Regions from separate parts of the Homo sapiens genome. Here region 2 is linked to region 1. The links are contacts of gene promoters, found by promoter capture Hi-C in blood cells and fetal thymus (Javierre and others, 2016). All regions are on one chromosome and are shown on one strand. Each heading gives the region's core, a stretch centred on a gene start or on the middle of the fragment in contact. The rest is flanking DNA. Distances are from core to core; before and after follow the strand shown. Region 1 holds the start of RFC4 (replication factor C subunit 4). Region 2 has its middle 23 kb from the start of TRA2B.

Region 1 (4,225 bases), core at 691-3,190:
GAGTGGAACCCTCATGAATGGGAGAAATGCCTTCATAAAGGAGATGGCTGGAGAAAACTAGTTAGCCCTTTCCACCAAGTGAGGTTACAGCAGTAAGACAGCTGTCAATGAGGGAGTGAACCCTCACCAGCCACTGAATCTTATGGTGCCTTGATCTTGGACTTCCCAGCCACTAAAACTGTGAGAAATAAATTTATGATGTTTATAAGCCACCCAATCTATGGCTTATAAACATAGCAGCCAAAATGGACAAAGACCACTTATCCATCAGCTTGTCTGTTTTTTTGTTTGTTTGTTTTTGAGACGGAGTCTCGCTCTGTCACCAGGCTGGAATGCAATGGCGTGATCTCAGCTCACTGCAACCTCCACCTACCGTGTTCAAGCGATTCTCCTGCCTCAGCCTCCCAAGTAGGTGGGATTACAGGCACCTGCCATCATACCTGGCTAATTTTTGTATTTTTGTAGAGATGGAGTTTAACCATGTTGGCCAGGCTGGTCTTGAACTCCCGACCTCAGGTGATCCGCCCACCTCGGCCTCCCAAAGTGCTGTGATTACAGGCATGAGCCACCGTGCCCAGCCCAACTTGTCTGTTAAATGAGATCATAACATCCCCCTCTCTGTGGTTGTGCTGTTCCTTCAGGTAGCAAATGGATACCATCTATTTTCATAGATCTTGTTTTATCAACTGTATTGTGGTATAATTTACATACAATAAAATATACAAGCATTAAGTATACAGTTTGATAAGTTATGGTAATGTAAACCGGTGACCAGATAGATAACCTGTGTGTTTTTTATACTGTCCAGAGATTGTATCAGACTCTGTGGAAATTACAAAGTAGCATAAAGCATCCTTACTTTGGTTAAACCCTTGATTGGGTTAGGCCTGGGATGTAAGTTCTCACAGCCCCCTACTTCCTCTGCATAACCACACATCACATTGTCTGTCACTCTCCTAGTCTGTAAAGCTACTTGAGGGCATCTCGAGCGTTTTCCCTGCTGTATCTGCAGGCATCTAACACAGTGCGTGGACATTCTGTAAGCATTTGTTGCAAGATAAATGAAAAAAACGTACAAAGTTAACAATGGATATCATGCTGAGTTTGTGCCAAACAAAACAGTCATTTGAAGAAGACCCGGAACAACCTTATGGGTTAGTAATTAGTAAAGACCAGTAGAGAAGGTGGCCTTTGAGAAGGGTCAGGTTTCAATAGGATTAAGGAGCATTTCAGAGCTAAACCAAGTACTTGGAAGAGATAAAAGCAGTGGGCTCAGGCACCAGCCTAGCCCACTGTGCATGAAGCTTGGTGGGGCTAAACATGATTATCAGTCCTTTAACTTTTATTGAACGCCTTCACTTCCAGATTTCTAAGTGGGGCTCAGGAATTATAATAGATGTCCACAGCTGCATGGTCTTCTCTCTCCACAACACGCAGACACTATTAGAAGTAAAAGCCACGTGTCCTCAAGAGGGCAAGGCAAAGCATCTTCAGATGTCTCTGCCCTTAAAGCACACGCGTTCTGCTCTGCGACGAAGCAGGACAAGGAGGACAGGGACCTGCACCTCCGGAGGCCCGCACCTACGAAGATAGCGGGCTCGGGACCTTCGGTGGACCGGCAGGGTTCCAGAGGCCCGCGCGCCGCCGCCCCGCCCTCATTGCTGAGCCTGCCAGGTAAGCAGCCCCAGCGCCGTGCCCGCGCGACCTCTACTCCTTCCGGGAGGGTCGCGCTCACGTCTGAAGTGGGAGCAATGCACCGGGACAGGGACACCTCCTAGGCCATGCCTGTTCCAGTCCAGTTCTGCCTGAAAGTCCGGCTGGCTCATCACCTGCCTAAATAAAACCGTATACGGGCAAACTCCCTCCGCAAGCAGCGCGCCCCAGCACCGGAAGTGACGCGTTACGTGCCCGCGTATTCCTACCGGCGTATTCCCGCCCTGCTTTTCGCCCGCCGTTCCGTGGCGGGAACTGAGGCGACTGTGGGGACATCAGTGATCGTAAGTCTCCTGGGCCCGTTATTCTCAGATTAGGTGACGGAGCTAAGACTTCGAGACCATCTCGTCCTTTTTGTATCGCGGAAACCTGAGGAACGAGCCGGCGGCGGTGACCTGCACGAGAAGCCAGGCTAACTGGTAACCTGCTGGAGGAACTGCAAGCCCGCTTCGCCTTCCCCACTCCTGCCCTTGATGCCCCTTGTGAGGTCTTCCACCTCCTTCGGGGCCCCAGCCTAGTGGCCCTTTCATGCCCTGGCCGCGCCCTTTGGTGAAATGGTGGTTCCGGACAGCATCTTGCAGGCCCCGGCTTTGGGCTGTATTAATGTTTAACAGCCCGAGGCAGGGATGGACTAATCCAGTAACGTTATAAAAACCTTGGCTGCTAACAGATATTAAAAATTTATTTTATTGAGCATATCCCCATATGCCAAGCAAGGAACTATGTATTTGCATACATTCTTTTATTTAACTCAGTTGTCCTGTGGAATAGGCCTTAGCTCCTTTAACAGAAAAGGAAACCGGGTATCATAGATGGTAATTCATTCACCAAATATTACGGAGCATCTACCATGTACCAGGCACTGTTCTAGGCACCAGGGCATGTAGCAGTGAAAAAAATAGAATTAACCGGGGACTTTTCAGGCGAGCTAATGATGCTTTTTATCCCTGAAAACAGCCTGGAAGAATGTTTACCTGCATGTTAGAAATAGTTACCTTCTGGGTGGGATTTTGTATTACTTTTTTAAATCTCTCATGCTTTTATGCATTGTTTTGATTTCTTCAAGTGAGTGTGTTATGAGAAAAACAGCTGTTTCTATTTTAACAACAGAGTCCCCCACCTTCCCTTCCCCACAGAAAGTCTCTGAAGGTAGGTAAGCATTGACTCTGCCATGAAAATAGGTCCCTGGCCAGGCGAGATGGCTCACACCTGTAATCCCAGCACTTTGGGAGGCCGGGGCAGGAGGATTACTTGAGCCCAGGAGTTCCAGACCAGCCTAGGCAACATGGTGAAACCCTGTCTCTACCAAAAATTTAAAAAATTAGCCGGGGGTGGTGGCACGCACCTGTAGTCCTAGCTACTGGGGAGGCTGAAGTGGGAAGATGACAGGAGCCTGGGATGTCAAGGCTGCAGTGAACCATGATTCCGCCACTGCACTCCATCCTAGGCAAAAGAGTGAGACCCTGTCTCAAAAACAACAACAACAAAAAAAGGTCTTTGAGTTCTGACCCAAGGAAAGGAGTGAAGGTTCTCATTTGTGGTGCAAGCAGAGCACCTTTAATTGCCGAAGAGTCCATTTCAGGGTCTGAGCTAGAGCTAGGCCCATGACTGTGAAAGAAACCATGGAGGCCCATGTGGTTTGGTCATTAGCAACATCATATTTATCAATGCATTTGGAACTCATTAAACATTTTTGTGACATATGATCTTTGTTCTATAACTCCTGCACTAGAAATAGATTCTAAGTTCGTTAGGGACTTTGACCACTTTTCTGTTCTTGTAGCCCTCAGTACAGTGCATTCAGAGTGTCCTAGGTCATGGGGTGATGTCCTTTATTATGTAACATCTTTGCACAAGGCTAAGTTTATTTTCGGGCTGTACTTTCTCATAATGGTTCCCCACCACCACCCCCGCTTTCCTATGGTGCTGATTCGCAATAAAAGTTTCAATAAAAGCTTTTTTTTTCTGTCTTGCACCTGACCAGGGTGAAGTACCATGCAAGCATTTCTTAAAGGTACATCCATCAGTACTAAACCCCCGCTGACCAAGGATCGAGGAGTAGCTGCCAGTGCGGGAAGTAGCGGAGAGAACAAGAAAGCCAAACCCGTTCCCTGGGTGGAAAAATAGTAAGAACACTTGTGTCTTTGTTAAAATAATTCATAAATTATCTCTCTAACCAGTACTGATCACTTTTTTTTTTTTTTAACTTATGGAGGAATGCTTTGTTCTGTTTAGAAGTTGTCTTTGAAAAAAAATCACCCACTTATATAAGTCATAGAACCCTGGAACTAAAGTTACCTGAGAATAATCTAGTTTAACTCCCTTATTTTGTAGATAAACTGAGATCTCTACAAGCAGAGGCTTCCATTTTAGGGGCTGGGATACAGAAGTGAAGAAAACAAAAGTTTCTGTAAACTGGCTATAAATACTAGGTCAGGAGTTCTACTTAAATCCAAATATGTAATCTGTTCCTCCTTCTTCTCATTACAATAGGTGGAAAGTATTATTATTA
Region 2 (4,361 bases), core at 1,018-3,517, 850 kb after region 1:
GCTTCTAAGAGGGAGAATGGAAAAAATCAGAGAGATTTAGAAGACAGAATTAATAGAGTGACTGGCCACTCCCAAAAATCTTATCCAACTGCCTACCCAGTCTCTGGATGCCTAGTTGGCAACTCAAGTTTAATGAGACCAATTCAAGTTTAAGGAGTTCCTGACCTCCTCCTCCCCACTGTCTCCCATATTTCAGTGAATCTCAACTTTATTCTTCCAGTTACTCAAGCCATAAAACTTCAGAGTCATTTTCAACTCTTCCCTTCTTACCCCTGATATCTGGTCCACCAACAAATCCTGCCAACACAACTTTTAAAACCTCCACAGAATCTGACCACTCTCCACAATCTCATTGCTACCACCCTGGTCTAAGCTACTATCATCTCGCCTATTTTATGACAACCACCTCCTAACAGGTCTTCCTGCTTCAGCCCTTATCCCCTATAGTCCCTTCACAAAGCATAAGCTAAAATGATCCTTTTAACACCAAAGTCATGTGATTCCTCTGCTCAAAATCCTTCAGTGTCTGGTATGCTGTTGCAATCCTGCAGTCCCAGCTACTTGGGAGGCTGAGGTGGGAAGATCACTTGAGCCCAGGAGTTTGAGGCTGTGTACTATGATGGCTCCTGGGATGGAGAGTCACTACCCTCCAGCCCAGGCAACACAGTGAGACCCTGTAGCTAAACACAAACACACTGAAAAAACCAAACCCTTCGATCACTTTTCTCTTTCAGGAAAAGCCAACATCTTTACCATCACCCTAACGCTTAATAGAGTCATCCCCCGCTCCATTGCCTCTTCTTCTCCTTTTAATATCATACTTGACTGTTGATTTTTGAGAATTTATTTCACTCTGCTTCCTGCTTTAGCCCTTGACTTCCTCCAGACAAATTCCTGTTCTCATAGAGCTTATATTCTAGTGTGGAAAGACAGGCAGAAATAGAAGAATTGAAGTAAGGAAGGGAGCCAGACATGGGCAGGGTGGAAGCAGAGTTGCAATTTCAAATATAGAGGTCTGGAAAGTCCCCATGGAAAAGGTAACATCTAAGCAGAGACCTGAATGGCATGAGGGGGAAAGCAGTGGGTAACTGTGTTAGTTCTTTCTCACACTGCTGTGAAGAAATACCCAACACTGGGTAATTTATAAAGAAAAGAGGTTTAATTGACTCACAGTTTCACATGGCTAGGGAGGTCTCAGGAAACTTACAATCATGGCGGGAGACACCACTTCACAGGGTGGCAGCAGAGAAAATGAGGGCCCAGTGAAGGGGGAAGCCGCTTGTAAAACCACCAGATCTCATGAGAACGAACTCACTATTGATACGAACAGGAGACAGGGAAATACTGGGTAGAAGAGGGTGGTTCCTGGCAAAGGCCCCACCCTTAAGCCTGGATACCTGCTGCCCTAAGTAATAGGCATTCCTGTTTTTGCACCCCAAAAGTTGCCTTCTGGCCTGCCACCACCCCTATCCTGTATCCATATAAGCCCCAAACCCCAGGCTCCAGAAGCAGACTAGGAGACAAGGAGACAAACAGATGGCAGAATGGTGCAGCAGAGGAGAGAAGAGAAGGAACGTCAGGAGGAGTTTGGCTGAGGATGTTCGGAGAATCAGCCACTGGACAGCCAAACTCCAGGGCAAGATCATATTTCTACTCCATCCCCTGTCTAGCTCCCCAACCATCCCACTGAGAGCCACTTCCACCACTCAATAAAACCCCTGCATTCATCCTTCAAGTCCATGTGTGACCTGATTCTTCTGGGATGCTGGATGAGGGCTTGGGATACAGAAAGTTGTCACACTAGCCCCCTCCTTTTGCAAAAAGGCAGAGGGTTCACTGAGCTGGTTAACCCTTAAGCCATCTGTGGATGGCAAGGCTAAAAGAGTGCACTGTAACACATGCACACTTGGGCTTTGAAAGTTACAGACACCCACCCCTAGATGCTGCCATAGGGCTGGAGCCCAAAAGCACTTGCCCCAGTTCCTGCACCTACCGGTATGCATGCTCCCCATCTCTTAAAGAGTTTGAGCTTGCAGTGGCAGAACAGAGAGCCACACCCCTGTGGCACACCCTGTGGTGGGGGACCAGGACCAGGGAACTCTCTCTTTTCACTATCATGAGAACAGGCTGGGGGAACCGCCCCCAGCATTCATTTATCTCCACCTGGTCACTCGTATGACATGTAGGGATTGTGGGAACTACAATTCAAGATGAGATTTGGGTGGGGACACAGTCAAATTATATCAGTAACAGAGGGAGATCATTCTAGGTTGAAGAAGCAGCCAATACAAAGGCCAGAGCCTTTGTATTTGTGGGATTGTTTTGGAGGAACAGCAAGAAAGCCAGGGTAATGAAGCGGAGTGAGAGGAGGGTGGCAGGAAGAGAGTTCTGACACAACATTTCCAAGGCCCTGTTGCAGGGCATTAGCAGGACTTTGCACTTTACTGGGAGTGCCATGGGGCTGGGATCTTTTAGAGGGTTTTGAGCAGAGGCCTGACATGATCTGACAGTTTCAAATGGATCCTTGGGAGGCTGAAATGAGAATAGATTGAAGGAGAAAAACCTGATTTGATTTATATTGTGCAAAGATGGCTCTGACTGTTGAGGAACAAACTGTAAGGGAGCCAGGAATGCAAACTTCCCACACACTCCATCCTTGCAGACTCCCTGGAAGATTGGTCAGGCATTGGATATTCACTACAAACCCCCAGGCCCCTCACACTTGTACCTTTTGCTTATTAGGAAGTGAGTGGAGAGAAGACTTCAGAGTATAGCTTATGTTGAAATGAGACTTATACCAACCAGTTAGCCCCATGACTGGGAAAGGGAGATTACGTCAGTGTCCTTGTCCTGCTGAGATCAAGTTACAAATCAAATCATGCCACCCCTTTACCACATCAAGAACTAAAGCAATAGGATACTTTAAAAAATTTCTTCCAAAGAGCTCTTTGTTCAGCCCACACTTGCAGGCTCTAAAGTTACAAACAGGAAGACAGGAGAGTGAGCAAAGTCAGCATGCCCTAAAAATTAAAGACTTTTTACCTGTTGCTCCAAACACTGTAATTACTTTCTTGCTGGCCATGTTATCAGGAAAAGAGAGAGTCAGTGGAGTAACAGAACTTTCCCTGGAGCAGCGACACCAGCCGAAATGCTGTGTTTCTTCTCTGGTGAGAATTATAAACCCATTCCAATTACCACGCCTTTTATTGTGCCCCTCCTTGTTCCTGTTACCACTAGTCCACTTACTCACTGTGACACTGCAATTTTCAATTTTCTTTTTTTCTTTTTCTTTTCTTCTTCTTTTTTTTTTTTTTTTTTTTTTTGAGATGGAGTTTTGTTCTTGTTACCCAGGCTTGAGTGCAATGTCACAGTCACAGCTCACTGCAATCTCCACCCACTGGGTTCAAAGGATTCTCCTGCCTCAGCCTTCCAAGTAGCTGGGATTACAGGCACGTGCCACTATGCCTGGCTAATTTTTTTTTTTTTTTTTTTTTTTTGTATTTTTAGTAGAGACGAGGGGATTTCACCATGTTGGCCAGGCTGGTCTCGAACTCCTGACCTCAGGTGGTCCGCCCACCTTGGCCTCCCAAAATGCTGGGATTACAGGCATGAGCCACTGCACTCAGCCAACACTGCTGTTTTCTTTCTTTCTTTCTTTCTTTCTTTCTTTTTAATGGAGTTTCACTCTTGTTGCCCAAACTGGAGTGCAGTGGCGCAATCTCAACTCACCGCAACCTCTGCCTCCCGGGTTCAAGCAATTCTCCTGCCTCAGCCTCCCAAGTAGCTGGGATTACAGGCATGCACTATCACACCCAGCTAATTTTGTATTTTTAGTAGAAGTGGGGTTTCACCATGTTGTTCAGGCTGGTCTCGAACTCCCAACCTCAGGTGATCCACCCACCTCGGCCTCCCAAAGTGCTGGGATTACAGGCATGAACCACTGCACCTGGGCTGACACTGCAATTTTCTAAATGAAGACTGATTCACTCACATATTTATTTGTTCAGCAAATGTGCATTGAGTGCCTTTGGTATACAAGGCATTGAACTAGATGTCCTGGTGATGTGGCTCTTGTAAGGGGGCTAAGCTCATAAATAAATAAAACTGTAGTACAGGGCAATGGCAAAGGAAACTCAAGGGACCTAAGTCATGGAGGAGAAGCACAAAACCCAGAATTAGGGAAGGTTTTCTCAGAGGAGATAATGCTGCAGTTGGCCTGAAGACCCAACATGAGTCATTTATTCAGGGAGTGTAGGGAGAGAAACCATCGCAGGCAGGAAAAACTTCACACAGCCAAGCCCAAAGGCAGGGCAATGATCCCACAGGGTCATGATGGCTGCAGCAATGCTATGTGAGCAGCA

Evidence for each region. Contacts are between HindIII fragments. The CHiCAGO score rates a contact against its expected background, and 5 or more counts as called.
Region 2: a fragment that was not itself captured here is called in contact with the fragment with the promoter of RFC4 in region 1 in 7 of 17 cell types (activated CD4 T cells, naive CD8 T cells, total CD4 T cells and 4 more); the score reaches 8.7 in activated CD4 T cells.

What each region holds. Positions count from the first base shown.
Region 1 is chr3:186,804,197-186,808,421 of GRCh38, reverse strand. RFC4 (replication factor C subunit 4) reads left to right here and starts at 1,940. Exons shown (of 11, transcript NM_002916.5): 1 at 1,940-2,132; 2 at 3,698-3,839. The coding sequence starts at 3,709. RefSeq lists enhancers at 1,161-1,772, 1,773-2,384. The HindIII fragment of the contact is 2,364 bases long and covers 1,307-3,670 here.
Region 2 is chr3:185,958,760-185,963,120 of GRCh38, reverse strand. It overlaps the pseudogene NMRAL2P. Among named protein-coding and RNA genes, the nearest start is that of TRA2B, 23 kb to the right of the region's middle. The HindIII fragment of the contact is 4,527 bases long and covers 4-4,361 here.